Regions from separate parts of the Homo sapiens genome. Here region 2 is linked to region 1. The links are contacts of gene promoters, found by promoter capture Hi-C in human tissues and cell types (Jung and others, 2019). All regions are on one chromosome and are shown on one strand. The core of a region is centred on a gene start or on the middle of the fragment in contact, and the rest is flanking DNA. Distances in the headings are between cores, read along the strand shown.

The links. Contacts are between HindIII fragments. The study calls those that stand out against the background at their distance.
Region 2: a fragment that was not itself captured here is called in contact with the fragment with the promoter of EIF4G3 in region 1 in 1 of the 25 tissues and cell types used here (stomach).

Annotation. Positions count from the first base shown.
Region 1 is chr1:21,175,527-21,182,530 of GRCh38, forward strand. EIF4G3 (eukaryotic translation initiation factor 4 gamma 3) reads right to left here and starts at 1,371. Exons shown (of 37, transcript NM_001391906.1): 1 at 1,196-1,371; 2 at 649-832. RefSeq lists an enhancer at 1,286-1,335. The HindIII fragment of the contact is 22,917 bases long and covers 1-7,004 here.
Region 2 is chr1:21,139,227-21,146,111 of GRCh38, forward strand. All of the region lies in intron 2 of EIF4G3 (eukaryotic translation initiation factor 4 gamma 3), which reads right to left. Among named protein-coding and RNA genes, the nearest start is that of EIF4G3, 34 kb to the right of the region's middle. The HindIII fragment of the contact is 7,294 bases long and covers 944-6,885 here.

The DNA of each region.
Region 1 (7,004 bases), core at 121-2,620:
GACAGGGAAGCGTCCGGCGTCACATTTCCTCCTCAGATCTCTACCACAAACCACATCACAACTCTCCCATTACTAAAAAAAATTATCCAGAGGAACTGCTTTCTGTACATTTTCACCTTAGACTGAAAATCCAACATACCTCGGAAACGAGCTGATTGGTTTCAAACAAGAAATTTACCGATAAAGTTTATTATGTACTAATAATAATTATGGAAGCCCACTGTGTCCCGCTGTAGGGGGAGCCGAGGGGAGGTGAAGAGCAGGAGGGTGTAATCCTCACAACAACCAGAGAAAAGCCTTCCCTGCAGGGTTGGTCCCAGGCACCAAGCAAATTCTGCCCAATAAAGGGGGGGAGGGTACCTTAGGGGAGGAGGGGAGAAGGGACCCCAAGCTCTAAAAGGAAGGGGCTGCAGAAGCATGGCCAAGTGGGGCTAGCTTTCACAGTATTGCAGAGGGTCTGGGGGTCCCCCCGCAGTGCTGCTGCCGGGGCACCCCAAAAGCTCCGCCCAAGCCCGATGCAGGGGCTTGAGCCGCTGTCCCTTTCCTGGCTGGGCTGTGGCGGCCGGCAGGAGGGTCCCCTGGGCTGCGGGGTCCCCCTGGACTGCGACGACGAGAACCGAAGGGCCGACAGGAAGGTGAAAAGGATACTGTTGGGGCGCCTGAGTCTGGAGGGCCCTGATGTTCGGGTGAGGAGGGGGGACCGCTGCCGCCGCCGCCGCCGCCGCCGCCGCCGCCGCCGCTGCTGCCGCCGCCGGGTGAGGAGGCGGTACCGCTGCTGCCGCCGCCGCCGCCGCTCCGGTGCCGGGTCCGGTTCCTGCTGCAGTCGCTGTGCCTGATTTCAGAGCCGGTTTCTGCGGTAAACTCATGGCAAAGCGAAGCCACCAACCCCCCCAGAGCGGGACCGGGCGCGCCGGGGTGCAGGGGCCGGGGGCAGCGGGGGGGCGGGATGGGGGCAGACCCGGGGAGGCGGCGGGAGCGGGGGGCTGGGGGGAGCCTGGGGGGAGGAGGAGGAGGGGGCCGGGGCCGGTCACACACGCCCGACGCCGCCGCCGCCGCCGCCGCCGCCTCCGCCGCCGCCGCCGCCGGCAGCAGCAGCCGCCCCGCGGGCCAGCACCACCGGCTGCCGGTCTCCGTGACAACGCGACCCCAGGGGGGGGGCCGGACCCGGCGGGGGCAGGAGGCGGAGAGACCGGACCTTTCACGGCAATATCCTCATGGGCCGGCGGCGGGGGATCTTTATCCCCCTCCCCGGAGGAAGCGGCGCCCTTCTCGGTAGCGGGGCTCAGGCGATGCCGGTGGATTTTCTTCACTCAACGAGCAGAGCATCCAACATGGCGCTGTGGCCGCCTCCAGCAGTCCGGCAGGACGGCTGCTCGGAAAACTTCGGACTTTTTCGGAATGGCTCGGGAAACCGAGGGTGGGAAGCCTCTTCGGCTCTTTCCGGAGACTGCTAGGGGTCGGGATTCTTCGGAGACGCTCGGGTGCGTCCTCGGCCGCCGTTCGGGAGGGCTCAGGGGCTAACTCGCTTCCTCGGCAAAGATCGGCGAGGGAGGCTTCGCTGGCTTACAGCGGCGCGGGTGCGGGGCGGAGGGAAAGACCAAAGGCGAGGTCTGGCTTGCGAGAGTCCTCCCCTGCGGCCCAGCCTCGAAGAACAATGGTAATGGCCCCGGAGTCGGCTGTTCGCTGAGCCCCGCTCGCAGGGGCGGAGAGGCAGCGGCGAGGCGAAAAACCCCTGGAGAAGGAACCGCTTAACCGGAATGGAACCCGTTGGATAGGGACCCCCCGCGGGGACTTCGCGTAACCAATGCCACCCGCCGGCCTGTAACCCACGCATTTCACACCCATTGTGTCGACACTTCCTCAGACGCTCTGAGAGGTGAATGAGGAGCCCCATTTCCAGAGGACACAGAGGAAAAGTGACTAGCCCAAGGTCACCCTATCGGGAAAGGACAGAGCCTAAATCTAAATGCCACCTTCATCTGGATGAACCTTGCCGCCTCCCATATTGGCTGGGGACATGACCTGAGCCGCCATATCTAATCAGCAGCCTTAACTGAGCTCTGTGGATGGATTCAAACCTAGGCCTTCCCCAGGACTGGAGCGCCCTTTGACCAGCAGCCAGTGATCAGCTCCCCAATGTCCTATGCTGGGTGACATTTGTTGATAAGGATTTTCTTCCCAGCTAGACCTGCCAAGATCACTCCCACCCCCAACCCCGCACACCCCACTCCTTAGCAGGTGCCTTGTCCTAAGCACAGTGGCATTGAGTGGGAAAGAATGGCAGGCATCGGCCGGGCGCGGTGGCTCACGCCTGTAATCCCAGCACTTTGGGAGGCCAAGGCCGGTGGATCACTTGAGGTCAGGAGTTCAAGACCAGCCTTGCCAACATGATGAAACCTCGTCTCTACTAAAAATACAAAAATTAGCCAGGCGTGGTGGCAGGCACCAGCTACTCGGGAGGCTGAGGCGGGAGAATCACTTGAACCCAGGAGGCGGAGGTTGCAGTGAGCTGAGAGAGTGCCATTGCACACTAGCCTGGGCGCGACAGAGTGAGGCTTCGTCTCAAAAAAAAAAAAAAAATGGCAGGCGTCATGGAGCAATCAAGTTTTAATATAATATTTACCAGACATGGCACTAAGCGCTGTACCCTTCATTATCTCAAGCAGTCCTGTGAAATAGGTAGTATCCATTTTACAAATGAATAAACTGAGACTGGGGAGGCTCAATACCATCAAACCACAGAAAAGCTGAGAAAATTGAGGCTCAAAACGCACAAAAGACTTCCCCGAGGTCGCACCGACAGTGTGGCTGGCAGAGCTAAGATTAGAGTCTAGTTCTGACTCCTGCTATCCTGCTTCACACACTGCCTTACTATTTTGTTGTTGCTGTTTTTTGAGACGGAGTTTCGCTCTTGTTGCCCAGGCTGGAGTGCAATGGCACGATCTCGGCTCACGGAAACCTCCGCCTCCCATGTTCAAGCGATTCTCTTGCCTCAGCCTCCCGAGTAGCTGGGATTAGAGGCATGCGCTACCACGCCTGGCTAATTTTGTACTTTTAGTAGAGACGGTGATTCTCCATGTTGGTCAGTCTGGTCTCAAACTCCCAACCTCAGGTGATCTGCCTGCCTCGGCCTCCCAAAGTGCTGGGATTACAGGCGTGAGCCACCGCGCCTGGCCTATTGTTGTTTTTAATTCATATAAAGCTCTACACATAGTGGATGCTTAATTCGTGACAATCCCTGGGAGCCCCAAATGCTCCTTCTAGGATAAAAGAGCATCTGAAAGAGAGTGATACCACAACCCCCCTACGGCGTCTTTCTAGCTAGAGCTCCACAGTTTCTGACATTGAAAAGGATGCCTCATCCCCATCTCCAGACTGGAAGACAGCAGCTACTTCATACTGTGGCATCTTAAACTGTCTGGATTTGTAACACCTGATTTTTTTATTTATTTATTTTTTTTTTTGAGACAGTCTCGTTCTGTCGCCCAGGCTGGAGTGCAGTGGCGCAATCTTGGCTCGCTGCAAGTTCTGCCTCCTGGGTTCACGCCATTCTCCTGCCTCAGTCTCCCAAGTAGCTGGGACTACAGGCACCTGCCACCGTGCCCGGCTGATTTTTTTTCTCTTTTTGTATTTTTGGTAGAGATGGGGTTTCACTGTGTTGGCCAGGATGGCCTCGATCTCCTGACCTCGTGATCCGCCCGCCTTGGCCTCCCAAAGTGCTGGGATTACAGGCGTGAGCCACCATGCCCGGCCTGTAACACCTGATTATTTAGGATGGGATTTTCTGCTCCTCTCCACATATAATTGACTCCAGGAAGAATTCCCTAGTGGTCCTTCAGTTCCCCAGATTCTCCTTTCATTTTCTGGAATCTCAGGCATCCTTATCCCAATCAAAACCTGTTCCAAGGAAATTATTTGACTTCTCATTTACACTAGGGTGATAACAGGCCGATAATTGCCTAATTGTTATTCTTTTCTGAGCTAGCTTCATTTTCTAACTTAATAATAGCTACAAGCATCAGACAATTACTGTGTGCCAGTCTTAGCTAAGCACTTTATGAAACTTATCTGTTTTAAAATGGATAGACCTTGGGCAAAATAATGTAAAAGTCCCTGATAAGATTCTGGCCACAGGCAATCAATGGAGGAAGTTTGTAGGGAACAAAGTCAAAAAGGTAGAGCTCTGTTCTTTCAGCCCAAAGAATGGCCTTGCTCAAGTCTAGACCTCACTTGCATATATATATATATTATATAATTTATTAATTAATTAATTAATTATATATTTAATATATTATATATAATATATATTATATATTATATATATCAAGCAGCAGATATAATATATAATATATATAATATATATAATATATATTGTATATTATATAATATATAATATATATAATATATATTGTATATTATATAATATATAATATATATAATATATATTGTATATTATATAATATATAATATATATAATATATATTGTATATTATATAATATATAATATATGTAATATATTATGTAATATATTATATAATATATATTATATATTATATATAATATATATTATATATAATATATATTACATAATATATTACATATATTACGTAATATATGTTATATATTACATATAATATATAACATATATTACGTAATATATGTAATATATTACATATAATATATACATTATATGTAATATATATGTTATATATTATATAATATATATTTTATATATATATATATGATTGTTGTTGTTTTGAGACAGAGTCTCATTGTCTCCCAGGCTGGAGTGCAGTGGCACGATCTCAGCTCACTGCAACCTCCACCTCCTGGGTTCTAGCGATTCTCCCACCTCAGCCTCCCGAGTAGCTGGGATTATCGTGTGCACCACCACGCCCAGCTGATTTTTTCGTATTTTTAGAAGAAGTAGGGTTTCACCATATTGGCCAGGCTGGTCCCAAACTCCTGACCTCAAGTGATCCACCAGCCTCGGCCTCCCACAGTGCTGGGATTACAGGCATGAGCCACCGTGCCTGGCCTATTTATTTATTTTTGAGACAGGATCTCAGGCTGGAGTGCAGTGGCTCAATCACGGTTCAGTGCAGCCTCGACTTCCCCAGGCTCAGGTTATTCTCCCACTTCAGCCTCCTGAGTAGTTAGGACTACAGGTTCGCACCACCATGCCCGGCTAACTTTTGTATTTTCTTGTAGAGACAAGGGTCTCACCATGTAATCCAGGCTGGTCTCAAACTCCTGGGCTCAAGTATAATCTGCCCACCTCGGCCTCCCAAAGTGCTGGAATTACAAGTGTGAGCCACCACTCCCTGCTTCTACAAATTTAAAAACTGAGATTCAAAGATGTGAAAATTCTCATAACTTTTAAGTAAATGTACAGGGATTCAAACCCAAGGCATCTGACTCTAGGTCTGATTTGCCAGGTTGCCTTCAGCATAGCAACCTACCCACTATGGCCAGAGGTACTGTCAACAAGAAAAGCTGATTTTGTTAACTTTCCTGTTACCATCACCTTCAGGATCCAATCTAAATCTAAAGTCCTTCAGAGTCTGGGCTCTGCTTCCAATCTGCCACACTCCACCTCAAATTCAGAGCTGCAGCCACCTTGGTCTATTGGAAATGAAACCATTCTCCTTGCCCTGGGGCCCATGTGCAGCCTGCTGCTGCTCCCTGTATCCCTAAACCGTCCTCACTCCCCTTAGCCAATTGGCTAATTCCTGATTCAAGGTTTGGCTCAAGCATCACCTCCTCAAGGCAGCCTTTTTTCACTCCCCAAGCTGAACTAGGGACCCTTCCTCTAGATCCCCTTGGCAGTGGATGCTTAAAACTCTCAGGGCACTCTCCACGAGTGCGGCCACTGAAAGCAAATGACCTGAGTTTGATTCTTAGCCCTACCATTGATTAGCTGTATGATCTTGGAGAACGCACTTAATTTCTCCAAGCCTTGGTTTTCTTATCTGTAAAATAAAGAGGTTCTACCTCCTAGAGTTATCATAAAAAATAAAACAAATGTGGCCAGGCGCAGTGGCTCACGCTTGTAATCCTAGCACTCTGGGAGGCCGAGGCCGGCAGATCATGAGGTCGGGAATTTGCGACCAGCCTGGCCAACACAGTGAAATCCCATCTCTACTAAAAATAAAAAAATTAGCTGAGCGTGGTGGCGGTGCCAGTAATCTCAGCTACTTTGGAGGCTGAGGCAGGAGAATCGCTTGAACCCAGGAGGTGGAGGTTGCAGTGAACCGAGATTACACCACTGCACTCCAGCCTGGGCAACAGAGCTAGACTCCATCTCAAGAAATTAATTAATTAATTAATAAAACAAATGCAAAACCCTTAGCTCAGTCCCTGGCTCATAGTAATTCTTGGATAAGTTTTAGCTATTTCTTTTTCATTTATGCAGGGAGATTACTTAGCCTTTTTGTTTTTTTTTTTTTTTTTTTTTTTGAGACATAGTTTCGCTCTAGTTGCCCAGGCTGGAGTGCAATGGCACGATCTCTGGCTCACCGCAACCTCCACCTCCCAGGTTCAAGTGATCCTCCTGCCTCAGCCTTCCAAGTAGCTGGGATTACAGGCATACACCACCACGCCCAGCTAATTTTGTATTTTCAGAAGCGACGGGGTTTTTCCATGCTGGTCAGGCTGGTCTCAAACTCCCAACCTCAGGTGATCTGTCCGCCTCGGCCTCCCAAAGTGCTAGGATTACAGTCATGAGCCACCGTGCCCGGCCAGAGATTACTTAGTCATTTAAAATATCTCTGACATCTAGTACTCAATAAATAGGATGTGAAATTTGCTGAATGACTGAATAATCGTGAATTGCCTAAAGATTTGGTGTTACCCTGGAGAAGTTCTGAGTCACACAAGAGGCCAGACTGAGTCTCACTGCACAGGGAGAGAGAAAAGCAAGAGTATCCTAGAGCAGGCCCTGCTAGCCCACGAGACGGGCATTGTGTCTTTGACCAGCCATCTACTGTTCCCAGAGCCCAGTG
Region 2 (6,885 bases), core at 3,341-5,840, 33 kb before region 1:
AAAAGAAACTAAAAGAATATATCCATTGAGAAATAATCAACTTATTTCTGGATCATGACAAGCCAAAAATCTTAACAAGAAGGCTGGGTGTGGTGGCTCACACCTGTAATCCCAGAACATTGGGAGGCTGAGGCAGGAGAATCGCTTGAGGCCACGAGTTTGAGGCAGCAGTAAGCTACAATCTCACCACTGCACTCCAGCCTGGGTGACAGAGTGAGACCCTGTCTCGGAAAAAAACAAAAAAAACTTAAACAATAGGCTCTAAATCCAACAATCAGCATCATGCTGGTAACTCAAAGCTTTCGAAAAAGGTATTGTGCAAATAACAAGGCAAAAACCAAGTTAATATCCTTTATATTATATGCAAGACCTAAATGAACTCACTACTGAGCATCCTAATTCTCTTAAGCTAGGGGTCTTAACTATATGGTATATCTAAAACTAAAGCTGCAAAATCTGATTCAGATCTATTTAATTTTTTTTAAGATGGGTTTCACTATGTTGCCAACTTAGAGTGCAGTGGCTATTTACAGCCACGATCATCACAAAAGACAGCCCTGAACACCTGGCCTCAAGCCAAACTCCTGCTTCAGCCTCCCGAGTAGCTAGGACTACAGGCCCACACTGGTCTATATAATTTAAACTACAAAACTGATTCCAACAGCTAGCACTGAGTACAACTATCCTAGCCTTACCCCATCCCTAGAATTATCCTGATTAAGACAGTATTTTCTTCCATTAGAAAAAAATGTAAAGGATTCCTTACTTGGGTCACCCAAGTCTAATGAAAATATTAACTAACTTTGCTCAGTGATTTAAAAAGTTAGCAAGCATTTCCCACATTCTTAAAAACCTTCTCCAGATTTGGTTGAGGCTGTCTTCTCTCTGTAACAGTATGTCATAATGTGTCTTTCTCAGGAAAATACAGTATTCTCTAGACATTTGTGGATAACCAACACAATAACAAAATCATCATGAAACTGATTTTCCAATTGCAAAGAAGGCAATAACCTACAGAAAAAACAGAATAGGAACAATAAAATGTTCTTCCTTTCACTAAAATTGAAGGTCCCAGTAGCATGGGCAAATTTTTTTTTTCTTTTTTGAGACAGAGTCTTGCTCTACTGCCCAGGCTGGAGTGCAGTAGCGTGATCTCAGCTCACAGCAACCTCAGCCTCCTGGGTTCAAGTGGGCCTCCCGCCTCAGCCCCCTAAATAGCTGGGACTACAGGAATGCACCACCATGCATGGCTAATTTCTGTATTTTTATTAGAGATGGGGTTTCACCATATGCCCAGACTGGTCTTGAACTGGCCTCATTTGATCCGCCTGCCTTGGCCTCCCAAAGTGCTGGGATTATAGGCGTGAGCCACCACACCTGGCCTTGGCAAAATTATTTATGCAGCAGGTTATAAAAAGATAAAATTAAAGTAAGCAGTTTTCAGCAATGGCTGATGTGAAGACTACTATTTGAAAACAAGACTATATTGTAAAAACTATACAAAATAGAACCTGAGAAAAGCAGACATATCCAGGGTTAGGAATGAAAAGCAGTTAATTACTTCCCTATTTTATAAACACTTTGAAGCTTCAATTACGTTCTTCACTGAAGGAACTAAGAGCAAAATAAGACTTGTTACCAGTTACTAAAATAAAAACCATCACTTTGAAAACATCTAAGGGAAAAATAACGTGTTCTAAAATAAAGTTTTCTGCACATCAATTTGAGAATGACTTAATGAATGTGATAAATCCGTAACATATATATTTTTTAAATGAGAAAATTATATTATAATCATTACATTACAGTTTATATTTATTCAGCTAAATATCTTGAACCAACTGTTCTAAGAACTTCACAAGTTAATGTTAACCCTCAAAAAAATCCTAGGAACAATTATAATTCCCATATTTCAAAATAGAAAACCCCAGTGCACAGCAGCAATGCAGTCTGCCCAAGGTCATACTACATAAACGAAGAGGTGTCAACCAACTCCAACTGGGGCTCTTAACCACTCACCAAACTGTTTCTCTTTCTGTGCCATGTTACAGAAGAATCTACAACACACTGAATGAAGAAGAAATGCTGTGGGATAGCATGTGTGTTTGAATTGAACATTACCATTTCTATTTGAGAAAAATATTTTTTCTTTGTGTGTGTGTGTGTGTGTGTATGTGTAGTTCTATGTAAAAAAAAAAAGTGTGAGAAAGATTTTTATTTCAAAAGAACTTTTGTATTTTTTTCCTACCAAGAGAAAAAAAAAAAAAAAACAAGATCCTGCTTACTTAGTAATTACAACACTACAGTATGTTTTCTATTTTACATTAAGAAAGTGAAGAAACAAGACAAAAAACAGATCCAACCCTGTAGGAGAGAAATGGTGCAGGGAATAGAAAAATGTTTTTAAAATTTTCTAATTAGGCCAGAAACAGTGGCTCATGCCTGTTATCCCAACACTTTGGGAAGCCAAGACAGGAAGATCGTTTGAACCTAGGAGTTCAAGACTAGCCTGGACAACATAGTGAGACCCTGACTCTACCAAAAATTTTTATAACTTAGTCAGCCGTGGTAGTGTGGGCCTGTAGTCCCAGCTACTAGAGAGGTTGAAGGGGAAGAATCGCTTGAGCCTGGGAAATCGACGCTGCAGTGAGCTGTGATTATGCCACCACGCTCCATCCAACCTGTGCAACAGAGCAAGACCCTGTCTCCAAAAAAAAAAACAAAATGCTAATCAGTACCACCCAAAGATTCAAGATAATATTTCCCTAATTTTGTTATAAAGAGAATTTAGCGTGGCACACTGGCATGTGCCTATAATCTCAGTCATTTCCAAAAAAATGGAGATAGATATGTATTACTGAAACATAAAGCTACTCAGGAGGCTGAGGTGGGAGGATCACTTGAGTCCAGGCATTTAAGGCCAGCCTAGGCAACACAGTTAGACCTCACCTCAGGGAAAAAACATGTATTAGGAATCTAAAAGTGGCTAATGGTCAGGCATAATGGCTCATGCCTGTAATCCCAGCATTTTGGGAGGTTGCGGTGGGTGGACTGCTTGAGCCCAGGAGTTTGAGACCAGCCTGGGCAACATGATGAAACCCCCACTCTACAAAAAAAAAAAATACAAAAATTAGCCAGTGTGGTGCACCATGTGCCTGCAGTCCCAGCTACTCAGGAGGCTGAGGTAGGAGGATCGCTTGAGCCTGGATGGTGGAAGTTGCAGTGAGTTGAGATCGTACAACCGTACTCCAGCCTAAGTGACAGAGTGAGACCCTAGCTCCCCAAAAATTAAATTTTTTTTAAGTGGCTAACTAGAATACATGCAACAAAGCAAAATAATACAAAGTAAATACAAACAAAAATGAAGAAAAACAATAAAGATCTAAATGGAATCAGGAACCAAACCATTTAAAACTCATAATAGCTAACACTTAATTTCCACAACCTTTTTACCCACTTCATACTCTGACATACTTCCCTTCATACATTTTGATCTGCTTCTATAATTTATCCCCAAAAATATCCATTCAAGTAAAAGAAGCTGTATAAAAATGTTGAGTGCAGCATGGTTCATAATATAAGAAAAACAGAAATAACTCAAGTAGATTAGAAAGAATTGCATAAAAATAAATTAAGCAGCATCCATAAGTAATTCTAGTCATTTCCAAAAAATGGAAATAGATATCTATTACTGAAACATAAAACTGTTACTAAAGAAATTACATTAAAAAGAAAAAATAGGCCAAATGTGGTGGCTCATGCCTGTAATCCCAGCACTCTGGGAGGCCGAGACAGGCAGATCACTTGAGGTTAGGAGTTCAAGACCAGCCTGACCAACATGATGAAACCCTGTCTCTACTAAAAATACAAAAATTAGCTAGGTGTGGTGGTGGGTGCCTGTAATCCCAGCTACTAGGGAGGTTGAGGCTGGAGAATAACTTGAACCTGGGAGGCAGAGGTTGCAGTGAGCCGATATTGCGCCACTGTACTCAAGCCTGGGCGACAAAGTGAGAATTCGTCAAGAAAGAAAGGAAAAAAATAAAGGAGAGGAGGGGAGGGGAGAGAGAAAGAGAGACAAAGAAAGAAAGAGAAAGGAGAGCAAAGGAAAGGAAGAAGGAGAAGAAGGAGAAAGAGAAGGAAAGGAAAGGAAAGGGGAAAAGGAAAAGAAAGAAAACTATAAAAGGATAACTAAGAAAGAATACTATAAAACAGTATACAACATTTTAGTTAAAATTTAAAATGCTGTAATGGGCATAGAAAGTCTGGAGAAAGACTTCAAACAGTTAACCAAGGAGGTGTGCAACTACAGGGAATTCCATTTACTAACGTTATGTCTATAATGTACAGTAAGATACATTTATTTCTTCTGTAGCACAAAATAAATTTCATTATAATGAACAAATTATTAAACATACAAAATATTTTTCAAAAATTTTTATTTATACACTTTGGGAGGCCGAGGTGGGCAAATCACTTGAGGCCAGGAGTTTGGGACCAGGCTGGCCAACATGGCAAAACCCCATCTCTACTAAAAATATTTTTTAAATTACCTGGGTGTGGTGGCATGTGCCTGTAGTCCCAGCTACGCAGGAGGCTGAGGCACCAGAATCACTTGAACCCAGGAGGTGGAGGCTGCCATAAGTCAAGATCATGCCACCGCACTCCAGCCTGGGTGACAGAGCATGACTCTGTCTCCAAAAAAAGAAAAAACTTATTTATAAAAGAAATGAGGTCTCCCTAAGTTGCCCTGGCTGGTTTCCAACTCCTGGTCTCAAGGTTCATAGGCATGAGACACTATGCCAGACCCAAAATATTTTTTAAGAAAGCAAATAACTAAATGAAGCAATTTCATGTTTTTTGCCCCCTTGGCTTCTATTTTTTTGGTGCAAGCAATGTCATGTTTTAAGAGAGCTCTGATAGTCCAAATAGAGCTCCAAAAATTAATTCCAAGTATCTATGGGTAATCTTTGGGAGATAACATCCCTCCCATAACAATAACAGTTATCAGTTATCTGCTTCAATCTATTTATTTATTTATTTTGGAGACAGAGTCTCACTGTTGTGCAGGCTAAAGTGCGCTGGCACAATCATAACTCATTCTAGCCTCAATCTTGAGGGATCCCCTTGAGGGAGCCTCCCACCTCAGCTCTTTGAGCAGCTAGGACTATAAACTAACACTACAGCAGCACACCCATCTTTTTTTTTTTTTTCGTAGAGATGGGGTCTCGCTGTGTTGCCTAGGCTGGTCTCAAACTCCTGGCCTCAAGCAATCCTTCCACCTTGGCCTCCCAAAGTGCTAGACTTACAGGCATGAGCCACTGGTTCCTGACCCTGCTTCAATCATTTTTATGGATGAAATACAACAGAACTCTTAAGAAATAAAAGCACCTTGGTACACTCTGAATAGTAGACAGGTTTAACAATGTTAAACTGAGCCTAAATAGTAAAATGGCTTTGTCTCAGGTCATAAAGTAAATTTTAATAGATTATAATAAACCACTGAAAGACAAAGAATGAGTCCCATCTTTCAAAAAGCCCACGAAGGTGCATTTTACCAGGCCAGATTTCTTTCTCATAAGCTTTCTACCTCCTAATCCTTGAAATAGAGGGTTCTCAAACTATGCAGATCTTGGTCACTAATATCAACACAGCAGAACACTAGAAGAGGTAACGCACGTACTGATAAGCATGTGCCTTGTTAAATAGTCTAATTCTCCAGAAAATGATTTTTGTTTTCTGCTAGCTAGAGTAATAACAGCATTGTTTCTTGGCCAGGCATGGTGGCTCATGCCTGTAATTCTAGCACTTTGGGAAGCCAAGGTGGGAGGACTGCTTGAGGCCAGGAGTTAAGAGACCAGCCTGGGCAACATAGCAAGAAAAAAAAAATTATGCCATTATTTCTTGAGTACCAACCATATCTGTATCAGTGTATTTAGTATTTTGCATGGAGGGCTCATGTAATCCTCAGTACAACTTGTAAGGTATCATCAACTCTCTCATATAGACAAGGAAACCAAGTTCCAAAATGTTACATTAAGAGAATTGCCAAAGATGACATGACTACTTCTAGTAGAATCAGAGCTAAAAAACAAAACAAAACAAACAAACAAAAAAAACCCTAGGGTTTAACTCTCAAGTTTTGCTCTATCTTCTAAAACCAATGATCCGGACCAACATACCTCTTAAAAGTGTCCAGTTTATTTTATGCCTTTTTTTTTTTTAAGAGACAGGTTCTCACTATGTTTCCCAGGCTGGTCTCAAACACGTAGCCTCAAAGGATACTCCCACTCAGGCCCCTGACTCAGTGGGATTACTGGTTTGAGTCACCCCACCTAGCTATGCTACGTGTTTTATCAAATGGAATTCATTTGAAACAAAATTAAAAACTTATATACATTGTGATTTCCCTTAAAGAAAACATAAATATTCAAGTGTGAATGGTAAAGTCTCACCAAAACCATTCAGTTATCTAGTAGTCAATGTTAGGAATAAAATTTGGTTACTTACAAATCTCTATGGCAAAATCTAGCCAATATCACAAAATTCTCAAAGGCTAAAAATTACAGTAAATGGGCTGGGTGTAGTGGCTCATATCTGCAATCCCAGTGCTTTGGGAGGCCACCACAGGAGGATCATTGAGGCCAAATGTTTGAGACCAGCCTGGGCAACACAGCAAGACCTCATCTCTACAAAAAACATTTTTAAATTTTTTTTTTAATTAGCTGATTGTGGTGGGCACAGGACTGTAGTCCTAGCTACACAAAAAGCTGAGGCAGGAGGATCAACTCAGCCCAGGAGTTCGAGGCTGTAGTGAGCCAAGATTGTGCCACTACACTCCAGCCTGGGAAACACAGCAAGACCCTGTCTCCAAAACTAAAAAAAATT